4 separate regions of the Homo sapiens genome follow, and regions 1, 3 and 4 are each linked to region 2. The links are contacts of gene promoters, found by promoter capture Hi-C in blood cells and fetal thymus (Javierre and others, 2016). All regions are on one chromosome and are shown on one strand. The core of a region is centred on a gene start or on the middle of the fragment in contact, and the rest is flanking DNA. Distances in the headings are between cores, read along the strand shown. Region 1 overlaps MB21D2 (Mab-21 domain containing 2). Region 2 holds the start of PLAAT1 (phospholipase A and acyltransferase 1). Region 3 overlaps MB21D2 (Mab-21 domain containing 2). Region 4 has its middle 17 kb from the start of ATP13A4.

Region 1 (3,267 bases), core at 240-2,739, 430 kb before region 2:
AAGTTCAGATTAGTACAGCTACACCCATCCCTGTAATTTAAGAAAGGACTAAGGGATCAAATGAGTTTTTCCAAGGACAACAGACATGAAAAAAAAAATACTGACAGGCTAACAGACTAATAAAGAGCTGAATCTGCTGAGACAGAATTGCCTACCTGATAACTGTTTTCAGTATCTGGGTAAAAACATACTCTATTGTTTGAGCTTGAAAATGTTCGGATCAAAAGAAATCAGACTTGAAATAACCAGCCAAAGCCCTCTGCAGAAGTAGAAATTTGCAGTTTAAAAGCACGGGTAGATCATTTAAAAGAGGACAAAGCTGCAGTGTTTTTAAATCCATGCCTGCTCAATTAAAAAAAGTCTTGGGCGGGCGCGGTGGCTCACACCTGTAATCCCAGCACTTTGGGAGGCCAAGGTGGGCAGATCACGAGGTCAGGAGATCGAGACCATCCTGGCTAACACGGTGAAACCCTGTCTCTACTAAAAAAAATACAAAAAATTACCCAGGCGTGGTGGTGGACGCCTTTAGTCCCAGCTACTGGGGAGGCTGAGGCAGGAGAATGGCGTGAACCCAGGAGGTGGAGCTTGCAGTGAGCTGAGATTGTGCCACTGCATTCCAGCCTGGGCGACAGAGCGAGACTCCATCCCAAAAAAAAAAAAAAAATTCTTAGACAAAGTCAAAGATGAGTCTCATAATGCTGACATGGGAAAGTCATACTTTGAGAGATGGCTTCTTTCATCTACTTTCCCCCAACCATCTAAAAATGGAGCAAGTCAGTGGATGAACAGTGTGGCATTCAAACATTCTAGCCAGAAATTATTAACCAAATGATGGCTACTAAGGGAGAAATAAGAGTTTCTTTAATTTCATAGTATTAAAGGATGTTGTTTGAATAAGTTAAAATTCGCTAAGTCTTGGTCTCCAGAGAATGAAGTTTAAGTTATATATGTGTTCCCCACACAAAGAATGAATAAATTGGAGCTTACTGGAGCCAGAACTGACTTTCAAGGTTATTTATTCCAACTGCCATGGTATGTATGAGGTTGCTAAGGCCCAGAAAGCAAAGGTGACACAGCACTGAACCTGGCACAGGTGCCAGAAATAGAACCCAAAGTACTTGACTCTCAATCCAGAACTCCCTGCTTCATATGTGGGTCTCAAACCGAGAGGCTTGTTAAAAATGCAGGTTCCCATGTCTCACCCCACAAGGATGGAAGCATAATCTCCAAGGAGACATGTGTTTAGCAATGTTGAAATGCTTTTAAAAATTGAGTCTGCCTCTCTCTCAATTTCAAAGCAGAAAGTTTAACTGCATGAAATCAGGAAAGGCAAAGCTGTCAAGTTAGAGGAAGGAATTTACTGTCTCAGTAATTCTCTAAGATCTTGAAGAGCTGAGATTGGCTACTTTTCAAATCAGGGAAGACAACTTTGGCGGGCTTTTGGAAACATGATAGTAATTGAGATTCAGGAGGGATGTGACAGGTCTCATTCTGTACAATTGGGGAATTCATTCATCTCTAACCACCCAGGTATTCATTTAGTTTGAAAGAAAATGATGTATTTGTGCTAGATTTCTGCTATTTTTTCAGGGCCCGTATCTTCCTCTACCCATCAGATAGGGATGGATTTTTGTCCTCTATTCAATCTCAAGCATAGATAAAGTGATTGCATCACCAGCCGAATCCTTAAGGACAATTGGCGCCCATACCACACTTGGCTTGGGAGCACATATATGGGTCAGTGAGTATCAAGTGTGGAGCTGACTTGGCAGCCAAGCAATAAACCTGCAGTGATGGGCACAATTACAGCTCAGTTCTCAAAACCAAAGATCACACAGTTTGAATAGAGGTGTACAATTTCCAAAGCTATCAATTGTCCCAGGGTTGAATTGAGAGACGACGACAGATTAAATGCAGACAGCTGTATTTATATTGTGTCCCTTCCAAAAGTCCAGTTTGGGTTTTATAGTGAAGTGGCAAAAAGACGAGAGGACAATTTTTTTTTTTAAAAAAAAAGATGGTTCCGACTTGAGAAAGGTTATTAAAGGACTCAGGTGTGCTACGATTGTGAGATGCAAAAATCCCATTTTTAAGATAGTGACAAAAATGACATTTTGTACACAGACCCAAGTCTTGTTATGACAGTAACTTTCAGATGAAAAATTCCATAATTCCAGTCTAACAAGAGGTGGTTTGAGGAGAAACTCTCCAGTAAAATCACATGAAGTTTTCAGTCTTTCCACTAGAGGTCATGCCTTCCTAATTTTTCTTTAGTTGCTGGACTGGCTGCAACCCAAAAAGTAAGGCCTGAGGTTGAACATAAATTTTTAAAATTAATACCTGATTTTACTGGTATGCTTTCAAAGTGAGTGAGAACACAGTGCTTCTTGCCGGTGAATTTCAAATGCCCACATGCTGTTTGCAGCAATTCTACTGTCACGATGGGATGTCACATCGTCGTTGGTAAGATTCACAGCTTTGAGGTGAACAAGGAAGACAGAAAAGAAGGATGCCAGAAAGGATGATGTGGATGCCGTGATAGAAAGATTATTAATTTAGGATACAGGCACGCTTGAATGTGGACCTTAGCTTCATGATTTATTAGCTGTGTGGCATCTGGATAAGTTACTTGACTTTCTGAAACTTCAGTTTCCCCATTAAAAAAAAAATGGGGGTAATATCATCTTTCTCATAAGGTTCTTGGGACACTTAATTGAAACAGTTACATAAAGCTCCAAGCAGAGTTTCTGGAACTTTGCAATCCTGAGAAAATGTAATTGTATTTTTAAAATCACATTCTGTTCACACTTCTGTAGGTTAATGAATAACACTCGTCTTTATCCTGTTATTTGGGCATGTGACTTTTAAAAATAAATATTCCAATACTTTTTCTATCTATTCTATCACTTCCCTCCCTGTTTTTCTTTTAATTTTAGTTTTTATTTAGTAATGTAGTCATGTGGTTCAACATTCAACAGCACAGACGTGACCCTGGAGGGGAGGATCTGTGTTTGAGTCACCCCTTTATTACCAAGAGCTCCTCATGCAGTGCTTTGTAATGCAAGTAACTGTGTGTCAAGTAATGTGGGTTGAGTGGGTGAAACCTCTTGACAACTCTGTCAGCTTTGTAAGGGACAGAAAACACTCTGAATGAAAAGTTAACACAAAGCACCTGGTAGATAGGAGAGAGGGAAGGAGGGAAGGAGGGAAGGAAGAAGGGAAAGAAGTGAGAGAAAGGAAGGGAAAGAAACAGATATACTGATTTTT
Region 2 (3,484 bases), core at 607-3,106:
CTGCTCCAATCATAGCCCCAGATTACAACTCTAGATTAAGACAAACTTTGCCTATTACTGCCCAAGGCTAAGTCCTCATTCTTTCTTAATGGAAATTTTAATTTTCCACTGCTCATCCGTAGAGTACCACCGATTGATCAACTCTCTCTCCAATCCATAGAAATGAAGAGAGAACTCAGGGCTCTCCTGAACTACAACGCTTTCTACATTTCTCCTATAAATTCCACGCAGGCATTGAATTGAATTTGTTCTTAACCAAATGCGTTTTATCTATACCTGGCAGGAATCTAGAAGTGAAATTACAAGATTTATTTCATTTTAATTCTATTATGAAGCATTTAATCACAAATACCCTGAAAATGAAAAGATAATTTATCATTTTACCTTGACTGAGCAACTCTCCTCACTTCACATTCATGAATCCATAACGCAGAGAGGAGACTGGATGATTAAGTGTTTGATTAGAGAAAACAGATTAACCTAGCAAACATAATAAATTTGGCTCATAAGCAGGATGGCTTTATAAATGCTCACAATACCTCTCCTGTATAAAATCATGAACCACTTCCTACAGTGATGACTCCATCGAAATAGTTGAGAAACATAAAGCAAATGCATGTTTATGGCTTTCTCTTTGAGACATTAAAAGGGTATTGAAAGGCATATCTGATTCAGCTTATAACTCTGGATATATATTAAGGAACATGTAAGAAAATATTAATGCATAAAAAAAGCTACAACTTCTCAAGTGTTCTAGTTTCCACTTTGTCAATAATTACGTTTTCAATGTCCTTCTGTGGACTGTTTCCAAAGGTGCCAATCCAGACCCAAAGTTTCAGATCACTCAGATTCACCCTTAACCTTCATAACACAACCCAATAGCTTTACGAAAAAAGTTGCATATTTAGGTAGTTGTTATCCCATTATGACAAAATACATAAAATTAGCGAGATATTTTTTAGCCTTCAAATAAGTGGGAAAAAATCCTTTTAGCTGAGATTCCATTTACATCAGAATAAAAATCTAAGTTATGACTAGGTTGAAGCAACGTCCTGTGCAGCGCTCCATAAAGTTCACTTAGTCTTCAAGGGTTCCTTACTTAGCTAGGTTAGTATTCCTGGCCTCTTTTTTTAGCAGTGAGAAAAAGGATACTCTCCCTGCCCCAGCTTTATTTTTAAACTCACAGCCATATCCTGGAGGTCTCTGCTGGCTATTTGGCGCGTGGGGGCGGAGGGGGGCCGGGGGAGGGGGGCGGGGCGGGGTCTGGAGGTCTGTGCTGGCTATCTGGCGTGTGTGTGTGTGTGTGTGTGTGTGTGTGTGGTTGGAGGTCTCTGCTGGCTATCTGGCGTGTGTGTGTGTGTGGTGTGGTGTGTGTAAGCAGTGAGGTTGTTTTAGGGCCAGTCCTTCCTCCGCCACTTTGCTGACTCAAAGACCCAGAGGCTTTCTTGGGGTGCAGGTACCATGATTCCTTGGGCCCTAAGGGAATTTTTGTTAGGCTAGAAGAGTGGGTGTACTCATGATGGGTGTACCCGAACATTCCTGGGCTCAACAAAACCGATTATCTTTATAACCGCGGCGCCTAGCACAGCGCCTGGTGCCCTAAACGTTGGCTGCGGGAACGTCCGAGACGCGGGTGCGGAGCCGGGGGCGGAATAACTGGTTGCGCGGCGCTTTGACCGTAGGCGCTGGAGCGCGTGCGTTGCGTGCGCGCGCGGAGGCGGCTGCGTCGGGGCGCGAGAAGGTGCAGTTCCCCGGCGGGCGGGCGGGCGGGCGGGCGAAGCTGGGCTCGGGGCCAAGCGAGGTCTAGCCGGAGCGACTGTGCCCCGCCTCCTGGGCGGAGCGGGCGGCTCCCCATGGTCAGAGCCTCGTGCCGGCTCGGCAGCGCCCGGACGCCGAGCCCAGCGCGTCGGCCCCCCGGCGTGCGGGCGTCTCAGAGCCGCGGAGGGGCCGCCGGGACCGTTTCAGCGTGGCGGCGCTGGTGCTGGCGTTGGCCCTGGAGGACGGCCCCGAGTGATGGCTGGCGCCTGCCTCCCGGGTGTCTCCCGGGTACAGATGGAGTCGTCCCGCGGCCGCCGGCGGCAAGGTCGGCAGCTGCGAGGCCAAGAGAGACCCCAGGACACACACAGCTGCCTCCCGGTGCGAGAAGAAGACCCCGGCTTGAGAGTGAGGTGTGCTGGGCGGAGTGGGGGAGGACCTCGAGGCGCCCCGGCAACCAACCGTGTTCTAACCAACTGGCAAGTGGGAAAAGTTGACATGACTAGAGAACAACGGAGCTTATCCACCCTCCTCTTTTTCACAGACTGGGGAACTCAGTCCACAGGGCAAGAGACTTTCTTCCCTAGGTTACACAGCTATTAAGTGGCAGAGCTGGGACTAGAAACCCAACCTGTTTAAGGCTTTTTAAGCCTACTGTCCTCACTGAAGTGAATATGAATAATAATACAAGTAATTATTATCGTATTGGATTTTGGAAAGTTGGATGGTGATATTCCTTTGGCATGCGAGACTATTAATATGACTCGTGCTGGAAAAAGTCACTCATGTTTTCTCTGGGCTTGGATTCCTCATTCCTTCATTCAATGAACATTTGCTCCGCAGTTACTTGTGCGAGGCACTCTCACCGGAGACTGAAGGTATAGAGCAAGCTTGTCCAACCCGTGGCTCACTAACCGCGTGCGGCCCAGGACAGCTTTGAATGCCGCCCAACACAAATTTGTAAATGTTCTTAAAACATTATGAGAGGTTTTTTTTTTGCGCTTTTTTTTTTTTTCTCATCAGCTATCATTAGAGTTAGTGTATTTTATGTGTGGCCCAAGACAGTTCTCCCAGTGTGGCTCAGGGAAGCCAAAAGATCGGACGCATGGTATAGAGAAAAACAAGAAGCATCCCTCCATAGCGTATGCCCCACAAGAGACAATTTCCCAGAGACCAGTAGCTGAGGCAGGTGTAGGAAGTGAATGGGCCATTAGATGGATGCCTGTGGAAGCTAAAGAAGGCGGATCGGAGGAAGACAATCCGACCTGGGGAGTGGAGGAGAGAGGGGGAGAAGGTGGCATCGACTTGGATTTTTTAAGATTGAGTCATTTGGGGCACTTGGAAATGGGCATTCTGGGTAGAAGGTTCAGTATTAACAAAAACAAAACAATACTCTTGAGTGGGAAGAATAATGGATAGTTTGATTTGCCTAGAATGTAGAGATTAATAAGGATGCCAGGATTCTAGGGCGGGGGACCAAGATGGGGAGTCAGTGGTGGGAAGCCCTGGAAGATTCCAAGCAAGGCATGACAGTGCTGTGGCAGCGGATAGTTAATTTGGCCAAGGAGTGGAACCCTCCTTTGTAGCGTGAGAGTGTTGGACCAAGGATCTTTGCAGCACTGAGAGTCTATGAATTAGCCAATCTGGGAATACAGGGCTTCATGGAAACATCACAGTGTAGGAGGATTATGGATGGAAAGTGCAGCTGGAATGGGAAAAGGTCGAAACC
Region 3 (3,091 bases), core at 310-2,809, 440 kb before region 2:
CAACCCTTGAGTTTGGACATTCAAGACCAAAATGAACACGTTACTTGCCCTTTCTATGAGTAGACATCATGGGTGTCCTTTGAAAGATCAGCAGGCCTCCTGACCTCTTAAACACCAGCTTGCCATGAGTCCACACCAAAACAGGGAGCCAATACCTTCCAGCACCTAATCAGGCAAGTAACTTCACTCATGAAGACAGGACACCTCTATACCAAGGCTGCCACCCACAGATATTTCCTGGGTGCTGCTCTATAGCAATACCTGCTTTTGAACAGACGTGGTATCTTCTATTTGGGGATTATAAGTTCTTCCTGCCAGTTTTTCTCAAAACTCTCAGGAAGAGTAGAGATTTTACAAAAAAGCTTACCTCTATGACCCCAAAAGAAATAAATACAAAGACACCTACTTCATCAAGTGTATATTTTCCCCAGCTTTAGATGGGGTCAACATGTATAAAGCTTTAACAACTTCTCTCAGTAAGACAGGAACCAGGAATATCAAAGAGGGCAAAGCAGGACCCCACAACTGAAGGAGAACTAAGCAAATGCAAAGAATCATTTCACTGATAGAAATGGGCAAAATGAAAAAATGATAGAATTTCGAGAGTGGTTGTTAATTTATATTGAAACACACTTTGCAATTCTGACAATGGCAAAGATTAGTGCAAATAATAATTATAATGGTATGTTCTTTAATAGGATTTAAATAAGGCTTCAAATAATTACATATGCTAAAATTAACATTTGGAAACCTTAATTCTGCTTGGAAAACTGTCAAAGACACCCTTCAAACCACCCAGTGTTCTCTGATTTGAGGACAATTACATTCAATGAAGTTGCTCCAAAACACAATTTGTAGTATTATCACTTTCAAAGTTTACATTGTTTGGTGGAAAAGGGGGGAAACTACTCTGGTCACTGGCCAAAATAAATAAATCCAGCTAACATGCCAAGTAGTTCCCAGGTTCATATGATTCTCAAATATCAGTAGTGGTGAAAGCTCATAAGAAAAAAGACAAAAACAAAATAATAAAAATAATAGGATAGAATCGTTAAGCATCAGAAAGAGATTTGTTTCCCCATACCCATGAACAAATTTGCACCAAGTATGAAACAGAAAAAAGCAAGAGGATTCATGGGCATTTTCATCTATGGCTTAAGATCTCCTTAAAAAGAAAAAAAACTCCAACAAACTAAAGAGCATGACAATAACTACAAAAAGTAAACAACGAAATCAGAGGCAGAATATGAAATAGTAATATACTGTTTCAGAGCCTGCACCATCCTGCAGAACCAGGAAACTTAAAATTTGTTCTTAACAAATCCAATCTAGGCTGGATATGTAAAAAACAGAAAGATAGCATCACAAACCACACGACACATTATCAGAGTTTAAGAATCAGGAAAAAAAAAAGTCAGCTAACACTCAGAAAAATTTGTCATCAATTCTGAAATGGGGCCTTGTGACATCGTCAGGATTGATAAAGACAGAGATTGACTTTCCCGGGTTCTCAGTCACTAGCTGCTGCAGTTTTTTTGCCAAACGGTCATCAGGCTGGTTGGGGTCCCCTCCGTCAGACTGTGGAGAGGGGATGCTGGTGGTGCTACCTCGCCTCTGGAGCTCCAGTGTCAGCCGGTTGGCTGCCTTGACATGCTCAATGGCGGTGCGCAAGTGCTCTGCCGGGTCTGAGCGCACAGAGGACAGCTTCCGGGCGTGAAGCATGACTGTCTCCTCAGACAGATGTTCCAGCATGTTGCACTGAGGGATGAAATAATTGGGGCACATCTTGTTGACCAGACAGTGTTGCAGGTCATCGATGAGGCCCAGCAAAAAGTGGGCTGCATAGTCTTCTTGAGCCAAGTAGTTGGCAGGAAGTCTGTCGCAGGCCCAGAGCATCATGCTCCGCAGGTGATAGGGGCTAATAGCCTTGGGCCGGGACAGCAGTTTAATGATGATGGCTTTGCAGGCCTGATAGGCCTGCATGAGGCTGCTGGAGATGCACTTCTTCAACTGCACCTCGCTCCTGGCAAAGGACAGCCGCCATTCATTGTCCTTCTTACCCTTGTAGGAGCAAGCAGGCACCAAGTAAAACCCACTGATGACCTCTTCCTCAGTAATCTTCCCATCCCAAAAGTGGTTCTCCATGAGCCAGCTCTGGGCCACTGCAGGCCAACCTTTGAAAGATACCACAGGGACAATATCATACAACATGCGACTACTCCCTACACCCAGAATGATGGAGATGATGGTCCCATTTTTTTCCACCTTTTCTACCTTTGGCATCCCTCGCTGGGGTTTCTTCTGTATTTCTGATAGGACAATGCTGATAGAGTCATAGAACCAGTCAGCCACTTTGGTAGGTGAGAAGAAGTAGTTGGTGGCACCATTGATGTGATCTACAATGGTGCAGCAGTCTTTCCATTTACTGATTGTCCCCTCATCAAAGAGCCGAAGGCTCAGCCAAGAGTGGCACAAGGCTGAGTGGCGCATGTCGAGTGTCACAGGCTGATTACGGTCATGCAGCTTGAGGGCTGGCACCAAGAGGGTAAAGTCCATATCATAGTCAGTACCCCGGGCATAGACATTAAGCTCATCTAAGTCCAGGTCCACCACGCCTTCCCGGACACCTCCAGAGAGCAACAGGTATTCATTAGCCACTGGAAGCTTTTGGTCCAGCTTTTGCACCATTCCTGGAAATAAAGAAGAAAAAAACAACACTATTACAGGAAACACAGACATAAGAGTCTTATGCATGAAACAGAATGCTCTGATGTTCCAAGAACCAAAACTCATTATCAGTACTAAATCAAATCTCAGGCTGCTGCAGAGACCTGGCCAACAGTACTTTCTCACTAGTGCTAGAATCCACCCTTTTCCAAATGCAAGAATTATGATAGATTTTTCTCTCTCAGTGTGAAAAGCAGTATCGTTTTCAATAATAAAACAGGGCCCCTCTTCCCCCAGTCATCATCTCAGTTAATGGAATTGCCATCCACTCAGTTATGCAGACTGAAAACCTCAGTACATTTCAACTCTTTGCTGCCCTTCTACTGCCAAATCTTTTCCATGGAACCTCTGCCAGGGTTTCTCA
Region 4 (3,307 bases), core at 442-2,941, 330 kb after region 2:
GCCAGCAGGGTGCGGTGGCTCATGCCTGTAATCCCAGCACTTTGGGAGGCTGAGGCAGGAGGATCACTTGAGCCCAGGAGTCTGAGAAAAGCCTGGGCAACAAAGCAAGACCTTCTATCTAAAACAAAACAAAACAAAAAAATTAAAAATTAGCCAGGCGTGGTGGCACACACCTGTAATTCCGGCTACTCAGGAGACTGAGCTGGGAGGATTGCTTGAGCCCAGGAGGTCGAGGCTGCAGTGAGCTGTGATTGTGTAATTGCACCACTGCACTCAAGCCTGGGCAATAGATTGAGACTCTGTCTCAAAAAAATATGTTTGCTTAGTAAGCCACATAATATATGCCTAAATTGTTGTTTTCCTATGTCTTAACATGATTTATAGGTTATTTCTTGTCAGGAAAAGTATTTTATTTCTTAATTATTTATCATTAGAACCATGTATGACATGCTAATTATAAATTATATACTAGCAAAATCTCAATGCATTTTTATTGAATTTTTTATTTTATCATTGACAAATCAGAAGGGGAAACTATCAGGGTGACAGTGAACAGAAGGGAAGGATAAAGGACTGGAATAGAGGCCTAATACCACCACAGTCTTTATCTTTATTTTTTCCTCATACAATTAAACTCAGCCTCTTAGCATATCCTATTCTTGAGTAAAGCAGGGAGGCAGTGTCATAGCGGTGAAACCCACAGGCTCTGAATTCTCACAGACCAGAGCTTGCATCCTGTGTACCAGTTGTGTGGTCAGGGGAAATTATTTATCTCTACAAGCTTCAGGCTCATCATATGGGACCAAAGGATAATAATATCTCCCATGAGGATGGTTGCTAATATTAAATGAGATGACATATATACAATGCTTAGCACAGTGTATATATAAATTCCCAATAATTGGTAGCTATTATTATTATTAAAGGGGTGTAAAATTTGGCCAGACATGGTTGTAAAAGCAAAGTAGAAAATAAGTATCTGGCCAGGTGTGGTAGCTCATGCCTGTAATCCCAGCACTTTGGGAAGCCAAGGCGGGTGGGTCAACTGAGGTCAGGAGTTCGAAACCAGCCTGGCCAACATGGCAAAACCCCGTCTCTACTAAAAATACAAAAATTAGCCGGGCATGGTGGCGTGGGCCTGTGATCCCACCTATTCAAGAGGCTGAGGCAGGAGAATTGTTTGAACCTGGGAGGTGGAGGTTGCCAGTGAGCCGAGATTGCGTTACTGCACTCCAGCCTGGGTGACAAAGCAAGACCTTGTCTCAAAAAAAAAAAAAGAAATATCCATGAGTTCAAAGAGAGATACAAATAAACAATTGAATAAATAAATGGGGAGAATAGATAAATCTTCCGTACAGAATTCCAGATAACTTATGCACACAGGGCTCCTCAGAAAGGGCTACATAACTATTCACTCCTTAACATTGGCTGCTGGTAGTGACTTCCTTCCACAGTGTACAGTATGAGGGGTGAGGAGGAAGTAACTTTACAGTGGAGAAACCTACCAAATATTGCTCAGTCAGGTGATGAAGGTTAATTTCAAAATTGATATGTCATGCTGACAACATGGTGTGATAAGCATGGCACTTTACCTCTTACAGTCTTCCTCCCAAAAACCTACAACTCCTGTCTATCCATGAGAAAAACATCAGACAAACCCCAATTGAAGGGCATTTTATAAAACACGTAATACCCCTCAAAGCTGTCAAGGTCGGCACAAACAAGGAGAATCTGAGGAAATGTCATGGTCTAGGTGAGCCTAAGGAGACATAACGCATCAATCTAATGTGGTATCTTGAATGGAATCCTGGTACATGAAAAGGACATTAGGCCTGTGAAATAAAATAATAATAATAATAAAAAGGACGTTAGGTAAAACTAAAGAAAACTGAGTTATGGACTTTAGACTTTAGTTAATACTAACACATCAGTCTTGGTTTACTTGTTGTAATAAATGCACCATACTAATGTAAGATGTTAACAAAACAGGAAGCCGCCCAAGCAGGCAGATGGCTTGGGCCAGGAGTTCAAGACCAGCCTCAGCAACATGGCAAAACCCCGCCTCTACAAAACATACAAAATAATAATAATAGCCAGGCAACACATGCCTGTAGTCCCAGCTACTCGGGAGGCTAAAGTGGGAGGATTGCCTGAGCTCCAGAGGCAGAGGTTGCAGTGAGCCGAGATCATGCCACTGCACTCCAATCTGGGGGACACAATAAGACCCTGTCTAAAAAAATAGGGGAAACTGACTTTGTTTGGGGTATATGGGAACTCTCTATCCTATCTTCATAATTTTTCTGTAACTCTAAAACTATTGTAATATAAAAAGTTCAGGTTTTAAAAAAGCAGTGGGAATAGAATGTTTGTTACAGTAATTGAGAACTACCTATTTTAAACTTACAGCAGTCTTGCCTTTGTTTATTAATTTGTTAAAATAATTGAATACTCCATGATAGCAATGTGCGAATTTGGATCTAGATGGATGGTATGAACCAGTTTAGGTTTAAAAAACGAACAGAACATCCTCGGTTTAGTGGGACGCCTCTGCCCCCTAGTGTCTTAACATTCAATCTGCGTTTAGTGGCAAAGGACAGCCTGCAAGCTTCAGTCACTTGATGTTTCAAGGTCTGGACAAGAGTGGAGACATTCTCAGAGCCTCTGATCTACTAGAATCGTACTCCAGTTTGTTCATATACCCAGAAACTATGCACCGCTGAGTGGTCCCTGAAGACGTTAGTACATGCACGTGATGGAACCAGCTGATGGGAATGTAAAGGGCAGGAGGGCAGTTTGACATGTGAATAGGAAGCCTTACAAATGTGTATAGGCCAGGTGCAGTGTGACTCACGCCTGTAATTCTAGCACTTTGGGAGGCTGAACTGGGCAGATCACTTGAGCTCAGGAGTTCGAGACCAACCTGCGCAATATGGTGAAACACCTTCTTTACAAAAAAAAAAAAAATTACAAAAATTAGCTGGGCATGGTGTGCACACCTGTGGTCCCAGTTACTCGGGGTGGGGGGCAGGGGTTGGGGGGAGGGGAGTAAGGGCTGAGGTGGGAGGATGGTTTGAGTCTGGGAGGTGGAGCTTGCAGTGAGCCGAGATCACCGACATGGTTTAAATGTTCATGATATAATGTTTAGCAAAACTCTAAACAGTGTGACCAAAACTTTAAGAAATACCACAGATTAATATATAAAACTTTAAGGAATACCACAGATGAACTTTAACGAATACCACAGCCATATATATATATATACATATATATATATACACATATATATATATATACATATATATATATA

What was found. Contacts are between HindIII fragments. The CHiCAGO score rates a contact against its expected background, and 5 or more counts as called.
Region 1: a fragment that was not itself captured here is called in contact with the fragment with the promoter of PLAAT1 in region 2 in 2 of 17 cell types (M1 macrophages and endothelial precursors); the score reaches 7.8 in M1 macrophages.
Region 3: a contact is called between a fragment that was not itself captured here and the fragment with the promoter of PLAAT1 in region 2, in 1 of 17 cell types (M1 macrophages). The highest score is 5.2, in M1 macrophages.
Region 4: a contact is called between a fragment that was not itself captured here and the fragment with the promoter of PLAAT1 in region 2, in 1 of 17 cell types (megakaryocytes). The highest score is 6.3, in megakaryocytes.

What each region holds. Positions count from the first base shown.
Region 1 is chr3:192,814,217-192,817,483 of GRCh38, forward strand. All of the region lies in intron 1 of MB21D2 (Mab-21 domain containing 2), which reads right to left. Among named protein-coding and RNA genes, the nearest start is that of FGF12, 88 kb to the left of the region's middle. The HindIII fragment of the contact is 4,756 bases long and covers 1-3,267 here.
Region 2 is chr3:193,239,366-193,242,849 of GRCh38, forward strand. It overlaps PLAAT1 (phospholipase A and acyltransferase 1), which reads left to right and starts at 1,857. Exons shown (of 4, transcript NM_020386.5): 1 at 1,857-2,168. MGC2889 (a long non-coding RNA gene) reads left to right here and starts at 2,414. Exons shown (of 1, transcript NR_026877.1): 1 at 2,414-3,484. LOC105374280 (a long non-coding RNA gene) reads right to left here and starts at 1,658. Exons shown (of 3, transcript XR_924833.3): 1 at 1,530-1,658; 2 at 385-480. RefSeq lists a silencer at 1,759-2,008. The HindIII fragment of the contact is 3,333 bases long and covers 1-2,643 here.
Region 3 is chr3:192,796,961-192,800,051 of GRCh38, forward strand. MB21D2 (Mab-21 domain containing 2) reads right to left here. Exons shown (of 2, transcript NM_178496.4): 2 at 1-2,690. The coding sequence ends at 1,426. Among named protein-coding and RNA genes, the nearest start is that of FGF12, 71 kb to the left of the region's middle. The HindIII fragment of the contact is 2,206 bases long and covers 457-2,662 here.
Region 4 is chr3:193,570,015-193,573,321 of GRCh38, forward strand. It overlaps a transcript of ATP13A4 not described here. Among named protein-coding and RNA genes, the nearest start is that of ATP13A4, 17 kb to the left of the region's middle. The HindIII fragment of the contact is 1,824 bases long and covers 780-2,603 here.